Linked DNA regions of Homo sapiens: region 1 is linked to region 2. Evidence: promoter capture Hi-C in human tissues and cell types (Jung and others, 2019). All regions are on one chromosome and are shown on one strand. The core of a region is centred on a gene start or on the middle of the fragment in contact, and the rest is flanking DNA. Distances in the headings are between cores, read along the strand shown.

The links. The method cuts DNA at HindIII sites, captures the fragments that hold promoters and counts their contacts. A contact is called where the count stands out against the background at its distance.
Region 1: a fragment that was not itself captured here is called in contact with the fragment with the promoter of PYGO1 in region 2 in 1 of the 25 tissues and cell types used here (mesendoderm cells).

What each region holds. Positions count from the first base shown.
Region 1 is chr15:55,866,097-55,872,212 of GRCh38, forward strand. It overlaps NEDD4 (NEDD4 E3 ubiquitin protein ligase), which reads right to left. Exons shown (of 29, transcript NM_006154.4): 8 at 3,483-3,585. Among named protein-coding and RNA genes, the nearest start is that of NEDD4, 120 kb to the right of the region's middle. The HindIII fragment of the contact is 4,581 bases long and covers 1,905-6,116 here.
Region 2 is chr15:55,584,497-55,590,761 of GRCh38, forward strand. PYGO1 (pygopus family PHD finger 1) reads right to left here and starts at 3,849. Exons shown (of 3, transcript NM_001367806.1): 1 at 3,339-3,849. The coding sequence starts at 3,387. It overlaps LOC124903497 (a long non-coding RNA gene), which reads left to right and starts at 4,054. Exons shown (of 2, transcript XR_007064647.1): 1 at 4,054-4,323; 2 at 4,807-6,265. RefSeq lists silencers at 3,621-3,670, 3,751-3,870. The HindIII fragment of the contact is 20,429 bases long and covers 1-6,265 here.

The DNA.
Region 1 (6,116 bases), core at 2,945-5,444, 280 kb after region 2:
AGAGATGGGGTCTCGTTATGTTGCCCAGGCTGGTCTCAAACTCCTGGGCTCAAGCAATCCTCCTGCCTTGGTCTCCCAAAGTGCTGGGATTACCAGCGTGAGCCACTGTGCCCAACCTTTCTTCTTTTTTTTTTTAAATTTTTACCTCTTTTATAAGAATTGTTCTCTCTATTTTTTCTTTTTATTGCCCAAATTTCATTCTCTTCTTTCCTTATATCCTCTTACTTTGTCTGCCCATCCATGTTGATCTTCCTTCTTTCTTTCTTTTCCTTTCTCTTAAATTATGATAATACAGGATCTAGCATACCTAAAATTTAGTCTTGCATATATTGAATCAGACTGTATGTTTCTGGTTTCAATCCCAAAACACGTTAAGTTTTTATATTTTACTCTTTTGAGAAAATATAAATTTAACATTTTTTGGTTGAATATAACCATTGATTACTTTTCCTTTAAGATTAATACAATTTATTAATAAAATAGTTCTCACTACTGCTGTAAAGGATTATAAAAATAGTGCTAGAAAAATGGTAGCAAAAGAATATTTCTTTTAAAGCTTCTTAGAGATTTCTCTCTTAAATGTCTGCTTAATGTATTTATATTATCTGAGTAAATTCAGGAAGAGAAAGAACAAAAATTAATTTAATTAAGGGCTTAAAAAAGACCTGTCTCAAATTTGTGGAAGTAGAGTTGTACAATCAAACACGGCTTAGAAAGACTGGATACAATGCCTCTATACAGTCAATTTTTTGGATAGAAGGCCTTCCTATTAAATATGTATCAGCTGCTATTCTTTATAAAATAACTTTCTAAGTATCAATGAACCTTATTTAATTTCTAACCGCAAAGCCAATATGTAATTGCTCACAATTTAATCAAGTCAAAGAGGGTCAGAAAGAAAGCATTCAGAGGTACAACCAACATTTTATGTTAATTTTGTAAAATACATACAACTAACCCTAAAGTTGCAAATGGTACAAAAATCAAATGTTACATAATTATCTATTATAGCCATACTTTACTACAGAATACAAACTACCTAAGAGTGAGCTTCATTTCAAAATTACAATTGTTTTCCTTAAATAGTAGAATTTTATATATACAGTCACAAACTAGCTGTCAAAGGACTAGGCAAGACTCCTCTAGTCATTAGCTACACAGAAGGTAAATAAGCACAGATTCATGTGTTTGAATTCCTAGGGCCTTTCATAAATAAACTCCTACAAGCTTACATCTCCTGAAATTATAAGGTGCATTCTGAGGGAATTCAAACACTGAGACATGAGACCGCAAAATGAAGTGAAGCAGTTCTCTCCACAGAAACTCAACTGTGAATAGGGTCCTATGATGCGTGCATGTGGGCAAAACTTGGAGCAGGTTACTAAATAATGAAATGCTGTTAAATTTTTTCAAGTTACTAAATAAATAATTTTCTTTCTTTACAGCAGATATCCTTCATTTCAAACAGAATTCCATTATTCGAGATACTCTGGTACACCAAAAAGCCAGGTAGAGAAACTTCTACTGAATGAATACTTGAAAACTTTAAAAACAATTATACGAAAATCAGAGAAAAATACCTAACAAAAAGTTAATCAAATAAGTGAAGAGAGTTCTTTGATCACCAAACCAGGGGCTATCTATACTCTGTGATTTGAAGAAAAAAGGTTCTTTCCTGGCTGGGTGCCGTGGCTCACGCCTGTAGTCCCAGCACTTTGGGAAGCCGAGGCGGATGGACGGCTTGAGGCCAGGAGTTCAAGACCAGCCTGGCCAACATAGTAAAACTCTGTCTCTACTAAAAATACAAAAATTAGCCAGGCATGGTAGCACATGCCTGTAATCTCAGCTACTTGGGAGGCTGAGGCATGAGAATTACTTGAACCCAGGAGGCAGAGGCTGCAGCGAGCTGAGATTGCACCACTGCACTCCAGCATGGGCCACAGAGCAAGACTCTGACTCCAAAAAAAAAAAAAAAAGGTCTTTCCTTCTATTATTATAGATTCTCCTGCAAAGCAAAATCTCATTAGTGCATTTAAAATTTTCCCAGAAAGCTCTGCTGCAAATTCACTACCTGTTCTAGAGCTTTTCTTTCTCAAGGTACATGGGCATGTGAGGTAGAGCCTAGCCCCTGGGGAAGGCCCTCAGCTTCACTGTTCTTATGGAGACCTAAGCAGGCCCTCAGTCAGAGGAGAAAGTGTTAAGCAAGGCAACAAATAAGAACCCTCCAGAGCAATTTGGTGCCATACGCTGTGTGCTTTGCTTTCAGTAACTGCTGTTAATATGGTTTGGCTGTGTCCCCACTCAAATCTCATCTTGAATTGTAGCTTCTATAATCCCCTCGTGTCGTGGTAGGCACTCAGTGAGAGGTAACTGAATCATGAGAGTGAGTTTTTCCGGTGCTGTTCTCATGATAGTGAATAAGTCTCATGAGATCTGATAGTTTTATAAAGGGCAGTTCCCTGGCACACACTCTCTTGCCTGCCACCATATAAGCTGTGCCTTTGCTCCTCTTTCACCTTCCACCATGATTGTGAGACCTCCCCAGCCATGTGGAACTGAGTCCATTAAACCTGTTTTTAAAGCTTTATAAATTACCCAGTCTCTGATATTTCTTCACAGCAGTATGAAAATGGACTAACACAGCTACTGAATAAATGATACTTCTTTTTGATGATAATGTGCTTTCAAAGGGAACCTCAACGAGCAGGTGTTTTTTTGACCCCTTTCCAAATCATAAATTTTTTTGCTGGAAGAAACCCTCGAGGTCATCTGATGCCATCCTGTCACTCTGCAAACAAGATCCTGAGGTTCGGAAAAGTTCAATGACTCACACAGGTCTGGCTAGACAGAGTGTGCAACTAGGATTCCAGTCTCCAAACCCTATCCAATTCTATTCCAAATACATACTTTCTGCCTCCTACTTGCTTACTCCAGATGCATGTAACTCTACACAAATCTTGACTTGGACTTTCCTCTCATCCTGTCATCCATGAAAATTGTTAAATTCTACTTGCCCCACATACAGAAGGCTCTTTATTAGATCACTTAAATTTTCCTTGCTCCCTAATTCCCCTCCTTTCCTATGAGCCCTCCCACCATAATAAGAATATTAACAGGACTTAAATTTCATAAAAGAGTTCCTAATCAGTGGAGTCTCCTCAAAATGTCCATATATTTAACTTCAAAATACTAAATTGTGTTCTTACTTTAATGGAGAATATACAGTTTTAGAAAACTTTGAAAAACTAGATTTATATTCTATTCTCTACTCCTTAACCTTTAAGAAGGCCATCAATAATGGCCATTCCTTCTACGGAAATATCCTTAGAGGGAAAACTATTAATGCTTGGGTGAAATAAACATCCAAGTAAATAATCTTCATTGCACATGTTAACTTCATTCAATAGTTATTGTTCTTCAGAGTACAGTAAAATAAGAAATTAAAATTTTTTTAGTTTAACCAAATATTTATAAAATCTCACCTCTAATTCCTCAGCCTGTTCTGCATTATCATCTTCTGAGCCACTGGTTTTAGGTAAATAAGTCATTTTTAGTCTCAGATAACCTTTAACTCTTGATTTGTGACTGTAGAAAAGAAAATAAATATTCATAAAACTTTAACACCGGGAGAAAAGTATTCAATTAATAAGAGTTTAATGAACACCCACTAGGTACCAGGGGGTCTACAAAGGGAGGTTCAAAGACAAGTTCCAGGGCAGAAGATATCTAGGGAAAGGAATAGAAGGTAGAGAAAAGGCAAACATATATAAATAAATAAATAAATAAATAAATAAATAATTGTTATGACACAAAGAAGATGCTAAGGAAGTTTAAGTGAACGATCAGAGACAATGTCAAAGAGAAGCTGGCCTTTGAGTTGGGGTTAGAAGACTGGGGAGGATTCTTACCTGTGGCAGTAGAGGAAAAGGCATATGAGTAAAGAAGAGGGCAAGATCCAGGAAACAGATGGGAAATTTGGGGTGCAATTAAGGAAATTGCAGTAGTTGAGTTTGGCTAGATTATAGGACATGTAAAGGGGACTACAGGAGATTGGGATGGTCCAGAGGTCATGCAAAATCAGACAACTTCAGACTTTATTTTGCATATTTTGGTAAATCACTGAGAATTTGGGGGATAGAGAAAGGTATCCTCAGAGATGTGCTTTAGGGATGCTAATCTGGCCATATTTTTTTGGATGACAGAAGAGTAGAGGGCAAGGCCTGATCAGTGTCTGAAACCTGCTACATCTCTTTGGCAGCTGTTTGAATCTGTCACACATTAATTTACCTAATCTATTTTTATATTGTATCACCTTTTTGAATAATCAGTTGTCTAAGCTAAAGGCTGCTGCCTGCTGTAGTAATATTTTAAATCTTTTGAAAACCTGTCTTTCATAAGCTGCTGCTGCTTTTTTTTTCTTCTTCTTCTTCTTCTTTTTTTTTTTTTTTTTGTTTTGAGACAGCATCTCCCTCTGTCGCCCAGGATGAAGCACAGTGGCTCAATTACGGTTCACTGCAGCCTTGACCTCCCAGGCTCAGGTGATCTTCACACCTTAGCCTCCTAAATAACTGGGACTACAGGCACACACTGCCATGCCCGGTTAATTTTTGTATTTTTTTGTAGAGACAGGGTTTTGCCATGTTGCCCAGGCTGGTCTGGAATTCCTGGGCTCAAGCAATCCACCCACCTAAGCCTCCCAAAGTGCTACAATTACAATGCTTTCATAAGGTTCTAATTTAAGGCTTAATTCTATTGTCCTCATCAATTCTAGTATCCTATGATTTACTTAAGAAATCCTTACTTGTCTCAGCTCTCTATATAGATTTTTTGGGGATGATTTTTTACAGATATCAGATATGTAGCAATTACCCTTTGTCTTTCTAGACAAGAGTCCTAATCCTTTTATTCTGTCTTCAAGAGATTACCTACCCCCACTCCCAAGCCTCCCCTAATCTTTTTAGCTCTTCTCTGTATGGTTCTCATGGATTTGGCAAATTTAGTGTATCCTTTCATGAGTAGTCAGTGAAATCCTGATGCTTATTCCCAAGGCCGCTAATGTGGCTTGTGTCTCCATACTGAAGGAGATGTGAACATTCTGACTTGTGGCTATAAAAGATGGATACAGAAAATGTGCTCAGACAATGTTTTGTTGAAAAGTTTCTCTACAATTGTATGTTTCATGTCTTTTCAATTGGAAAAGAAGCCTCAAGGTTTTGACTTAATGGGGCTCACACAAATTTAGGAATGTAGTACATTTTCTATCTGAATAAAGTTCTTTCTACACTTGCAATAATATTCATTGCAGACAGAAGAAACAAATTGTATTTTTTAAAGATAAAGACGCTAGAAAGCATGTGACAAATTGAAAAGCAGGCTGCTAGGACAATCAAATAAGAAAAAACAATTTAGTTATTCTTGATATGCAGATGTCACAATCAGTCTAAAATTAAAAGACTAAAAGAGATTTACATTCCAGACATCTACAGAAATTAAATGTGACTTCCTTTATAGAGAGTAAATATTAACAGTCAGTGAGCACTCCTTTTCATTTTTTTAATATTTACATTACAAACAGTAATTTAAAAAATCATTTTTAAGTGAAAAATTTTACTAAGTTCCAAAAGTACATTTTCAAATGCATTTTATAGTTTAAGAAACAAGACAAATACTGTTGCTTTCACAGATGTCCTTTCTCTGCTTTAGTTTGACCTTTTTGACAGTAAATCCACACACGTTTTCACTAGATTTTACTTGTCAATGAGGTATAGAAGATCAAAAGGAGTTTTAGTTACAGCTTAAATTTAAATTTTTTTGATAAACATCAAGTAACTTTGTTTGGGAAAATGGAATTATAAGCATGCTATTTGGGTTTTAAATTCCAGTCTTATGTTATTTTCTCTAAATATTTGAGTCTTCTGAAATACTAAGTATGCAAAATATAGTTAGGTTTTTCTGAAATTGGCTTTGTGCACGTCGAGTTAGGTAATGGTTTTAGATGAATTCATGTTTGTGATTTTTTAAAGCATAGTATGACAATATGACATAAATAGCCTTCTAGTCTGATAAGTATTAGGAGAACGAATCTTTCCCAAAAGGCTGTGATCACTTTCTGTATT
Region 2 (6,265 bases), core at 2,599-5,098:
CCATCAGATCAATGCCTAAAAGAGTTCTAGGAATACTGGAGAATGGGAGTATTGGTTAAAATAACGATGGCAGTTGACATTCTAAGGGAAAAGGGCAAGTAAAAGTAGTATGAGGGGAAATGGACTATCAGAAAGCAGCATAATTCATGTATTCACTCATTCATTCATTTGACATTTACTATGGGCAAGGCAAATAAGATAATCAAGACATAGTACCTGTCCTCATAGATCTGTCTTATAATCAAAAGGTGAAGGTTTGGGGGTGGAGTGTTAAGAACTGGTAGAAAATAGGAGTAAGATACTGTGTCACTAAAGAGTAATTCTAAATCTATTGTTAAAATATAAGGACAGTTTGGAAGACCACAGCCAGCTGCTTCTGGTCTACTCACACCTTTATAATCTAGGTCTATTAGTGGCATTTCTCAAACTTCAGTATGCATAAGGAGCACCTGGGGATCTTGTTAAAGATGCAGAAGTCCCAACTCTGTGGATCCCAGAAGTCCTGATTCCGTAGATCCACGAATCTATATTTTAATAAGCATCACAAGTGATTATGATGCTTTTGGTCTGCAGAGCATGCTACTGTAAAGTCCTCAGTCATTCATGTTTTAGTTTTGCCATATCTGAGTTCTACCTATAATATTACTTTCTTAATAATTCATGTAATTGCTATATGTGTGTTAATAATTCATTTAAATTGCTATATGTGTGTATTTATACACATATGTATCTTAGCCTTATCCTAAGCAAGGTATTTGGTGACTCTTTTAATACATATAAAATAAATACACAACCATTAAAAAGGTCTGTCTCTATCACATCAGCAGATGGGAAACAGTTTGAAAAGCACTGCTCCAGAGTTTATGCCCTGCAAACACCACATCCTGCATGCAGTCTGATGATATAAATTACATTAAATAACAAAAAGCTCCAGGGCAATGAAGTTCAGCAGAATGGTGCTTCAGAAGAGCTAATCATAAAATATTCCAAAAAATTTTTTAATGAATGTTCTAATTATTACAAAATGACATTAAGAAAATTCTCCCCATAACATAAAAATACTGACTTTTTATTTTAAAAAGTGTTTTGTCTTTTATTCTGGTACTTAACTCTCAGAATATTCTTGAGCTGACACCGGAGCCAACCCCAATAGCTACGCCATAGAACTTAACAGCAGTTGGAACAAAATGAAGATATATCTGTGTTCTTGACCCACAATAAAACACTCATCCATTTTATTTAGAATTAAATTTGATTAGGACTGATAATTCAGTTCAAAGGTATAAACTTGATAGCTCTTTCTTTTCCTTTAACCCCAAAACAATTTATAATAGTAGGCAAAATTATACAGCACAAATATCAGGGGAATAATTGTATCTCAGGAAGGTCTATTCCTTAAAGGCTTTGGCAACTCACAACCACAAACAGAAAAAGACAATTAAAATATTTCACCAAATTAAAGGTTGTGCTGATATTAAGCCTTTAAAAACAATATTCTCTAAATTATGTTTTCTCTTAAATGGCTAAGAAAATCATTTTCTACCAAAATACTCTTGAGTGGATGTCTTTTGGATTGTGTGTCACAAGCTAGTTCTATACATGTTTAATTTCTAGTCACATTGAACAAAAACAAAAATGAATGACTGTGGTCCTTCATCTCTACATCACTTAAGTCAGCCGGAAATTTACCTTCCTACTTACTGATTTATAAAGCATTTTACCCTGTTTACCCTGTTTGGATGACTATTGCAATCACCTCCCTACTAGTCTCCCCTGCTTCAGCCTTTTCTCTACAGTCTATTCTCCGCACAGCAGCTTAAGATGCCCTGTTTAAAATGTCAGATCACTCACTCTTATGCTCAAAACTCTGCAGACCTTTTCTCAGAGTAAAAGCCAAAGTCTTTTAAATGGCACACCAGGCCCTCTAATACACAATCATCCTATAGCCGGCAGCATTAAGACTACTGAACGACTGTAATTTTACTATTAAAATGCTATAATTTAAAAATGTACTCTTAATGATATCTATCACCTTTGCTCACTTTTCAAGAATCAAATAATTCTTGATCCTACTCCTTAGCCCCTGTCACAGGACTCTTTCCTTGCTCACTTTGCTGCAGTTACAATAGCTTCTTTGCTGTTGATTGCACACACTGGGCATATTCCAGACACAGGGGCTTTGCATTTGCTGTTGCTTTTCAGAGACTGCTCTTCCCACGTGAATTCATATGGCCCTGGCTCTATCATTTCCTTTAGGTCTTTGCTCAAACATTATCTACCAGGTGAGCCCTTTCATGATCACCTTACATACAATCCATACTTCCCATCCCCACACATATTTCCTCTCCTCTATTCCTGTTTTGTTGTCCACCATACCACCTACGATTTGACATTCTGTATCTACTGTTTATCATTTGTTTATCCCACAAGAGGGTGAACTCCTACTGGATGAAGATTGTCTATCTGCTTTGTTCACTGCTGTATCCCAGTAACAAGAACAGTGTCTAGCACATAGTAGATGTTCAATAAATATTTGCTTAATGAACAGTGAGTACTACTCCAACTCTAGAACTTTCAGTCTTAACCTTATTAAGAGCTAAAAGGCATCCCCCAATTTCCGGGTGGCATTTGACTTTTGTGAACTTATATGCAGTATCTTTTGTTTGACACATGGTTCCCTCTGATTTTTCTTAGATGATAGTAACACGAAAGGAAAATTCCTAACCAGTGCGCAAGAAAGAAGAAAATCAACCATGCATAACACTGATTTTAGATAATATCTTATCCATAAACCAACAGAGAAAATGCCTTCTGAATTTGTAGCTTCTCCTCTTAAACCTACGGAAAATAAACTGAATATTTGTTGCCTTTGCCGGGGTGGGGGGGCGAGAAGGGGGCCAGGAGAGACGTGAAAGCCCAGGAGCCCTTCTTCAACAGCATCAACTCTTGTGTACTCCAACTTACTTTTTTTGAGGGGGTGGGCACCGTTCGAGGTCTCTGCCAGGGGGTGTCTGTTTTTCACCCTTTGAGGTGCCTATTGTGCTGTCTTGAGAACGAGGAGAGGTGGGTGAGGAGGGGGTAAGAAAGGATGCTGCTTGCGGCTCCAACTGCCTCCGAACACAAAGTCGGGAGGCGAGGGATCCGCGCGGATGTCTCGGGGGCCAGCGGGCGCCCGGGCCGCGCGCTCGGATCGCAGCCTCGGCCCCGGGGTGCCGGCGGGACGCGGGCTGCGCGGACTTAGGCCCGGACAGAGCCCCATGGCCTCCCGGCGGCCGGGCACGGGGCCCCGCGCACCTCACTCACCCCGGTTCCCCCAATCCGGCACCCTTCTCGGTTACCTCGAACTCTCTTCAGCGAAATGGGATCCTTCTCCTGTTCTGCTGACATTACAGACCGCAAAGCATGACTCCCCCCCAGGCCGCGGGAATTCGGTCTCTTTGATGCTGCGGCGGCGGCTCCTCCTCCTCGCGGGGCCGCTGCGGCTGCGAGGCAAGCCTCGGAGCCGAGGCACGGCCGAGGGCGGTGGGGACGCGGGCCGACTTTGCAAAGTTTGGGAGGAGGACGAGGCCTCGGGGCGGCGGGGCGGCGGGGCGGCGTGCGGGCACCGGCGGGGCTCAGCGGCGGTGGCCGGGAGCGCGGCCTGGGGGCGGCCCCCCACCCGGGGCCGGCATGTGCTGAGGGCGAGTGCGCCGCCGCCGCCGCCGCCTCCTCCCACTCCTTCTTCTTCGCCGCCGCCTCAGGAGCCGCTGACAGGGGAAGCAGGAGGCTCGCGGCCCGGCCCTGGCGGCACACTCACAGCGCCCTCTGAGGAGGAGGTCTGCTCTCTCGCCGCTCCCGAGTCGCAGACACAAAAGCCCCCAGACTGGAGCCGCCTGTAAAACCCGCTCTGGGGCGGGCGAGGGACGTGGCGCGGCCCCGCGGCTTCCCCGCCCTGAGCTCCCCAGCCCCGCGCGGGGACGGGCTTCGGGGGGCGGGGGCCGCTGCCTCGTCCCGCGGCGCCTCCCGCCACCGCCGCCGCCTCGCGCTCCGCCTCGGCCCAGCCCCCACGGCCCGCGCGCGCCTCTTGCTCCAAGCCGGGGCTCGCGGGCCCGCGGCTCTTGCAGCCCGGGTGGGCAGCGCGCGCCTAGGGGCCGCCCCGCCCCGCGCCCGGCGCTCCCTCGCCGACCGCCAGGCCCGAGAACGCCCGACCCCGCGGCCGACGCTACCGGGCCCAGCTTTCGCAAGGAAAGGGCATCTCCGAACTTCGTCGGAGGCCACAGCAGCAGGCGTCTCGGCCTCGCAGCTAGGGATCGGAAAGATGAACGTACCATGCGAGGAAACTTTGTAAGCGGGAGCTGGAGAGTTCTCGGCGGGCATGTGGGGATCCAGATTCCCCGACTCCGTGTCCGCGTGGCCGTGGTGTGGACACCTGTCTGTAGAATGCCTCCACTTGGTATTTTAACGACTTGACTCTTCAAGAAAGAGCGACGTAGAATAAATACCAGAAAGGACGGTGGGCGGGGGAGGGGGGAGCGTGGGTAGAAGCGGTGACGCGGCTGGATCTCATTTAGACGTTAAATTTTAGGAGGAACACCCCCAGTGTGATTGTAAATTAGATGTGATCACCGGTCCACATTCTTCAGTTGGGCTGTGTGACCGGAGGCGACTTAGGTAACCTCTCTGGGTCTCAGTTTTCTTGTCTATAAAAGGCAGTGGGGCTACATCTCGAAGGTCTCTTCTAGCTCCGACATTGTTTAACGCACTTCTACGAAATTGTTTTCCCTGGTTTTTGTTTTTTGTTTTTTGTTTTTGTTTTTGTTTTGCTAGGTTTTCTGGTTATCCACTGGGCTTATTTTGATGTAAGAATCACCGAAAAGCACTCATGAAGCGTGGGAGGACACAGAACTAGCTACAGACAGGAGTCTCGTCCTTCCGGAGACAGACACCCAACTCATTCAGCTGCACAGTGTCACAGAGAACAGATGTTAACATGAAGCCAATGTACAGCCTCAACAGCTGCATACCAGACAATCGCCACAGCGGCTGATCGTCGTTAAGACATAGCGTGGCCGGAGGCAAATGTTACCCTTTATCTAATAAGGGTGGTCTGGAATTATGGAATTCCTGATTAGAAGAGTCAGACTAGGACAGGCTAAGGAAAATATTCTTACAGGAAGCACTCTGAGGAGAAGGTTCCTCCTAACTAGAATGTAAGCGCCATGCAGGCAGGAATTTTGACTGGCTCACTGCTGTATCCTCTGGTACCTAATACTGAGTAACACATAGTAAGTGTTCGGGAAAATATTCATTGATGTATGAATAAAGAGATTTGAAGTGGCCCTGGGACGACTGGGGTGGCAGGGCTTTGGTAAGTGTAATAAAGCCGAAGCAAATGGTAATATAATAAAGCAGATTGGGGGCCGGGCGCGGTGGCTCACGCCTGTAATCCCGGCACTTTGGGAGGCCGAGGCAGGCGGATCATGAAGTCAGGAGATCAAGACCATCCTGGCTAACACGGTGAAACCCCGTCTCTACTAAAAATACAAAAAAAAAATTAGCCGGGTGTGGTGGCGGGCGCCTGCAGTCCCAGCTACTCGGGAGGCTGAGGCAGGAGAATGGCGTGAACCCGAGAGGCGGAGCTTGCAGTGAGCCGAGATCGCGCCACTGCACTCCAGTCTGGGTGACAGAGTGAGACTCTGTCTCAAAAAAAAAAAAAAAAAAAAATTAAAAATAAAGCAGATTGAATCTAATAATCTATGTTATAGGGTGGTTGGAGGAAAATTTGAAAGCACTTTGGTAAGTCAACAAAGAAATGAAGGCCAGCTGTGGTGGCTCACGCCTGTAAATCCCAACACTTTGGGAGGTTGAGGCGGGAGGATCACTTTAGCCCAGGAATTTGAGACCAGCCTGGGTAACAAAGCTAGACCCTTCTCTACAAAATAATTTTTAAAAATTAGCCAGGCGTGGTGGCACCGGCCTATAGTCCCAACTACTCAGGAAACTGAGGCAAGAAGATCCCTTAAGCCCAGGAGTTCAAGGTTGCAGTGAGCGATGATTACACCACTACACTTCATCCTGGTTAACAGAGCAAGCAAGACCCTGTCCCCCCTCCAGAAAAATATGGAAATGACATATTTTCATTTTATAACTCTTAGTGGAAGGAGAATGGTTCAGAAAAATCATTGCTAAGAGATTTTGAGTTCTTTATTGTAATTCCCTAAAGCTAGAGACTCAGAAATAGCATGAAAATCAAGAGAAATGAATTGGCTTCTTTTTAATGATTCAT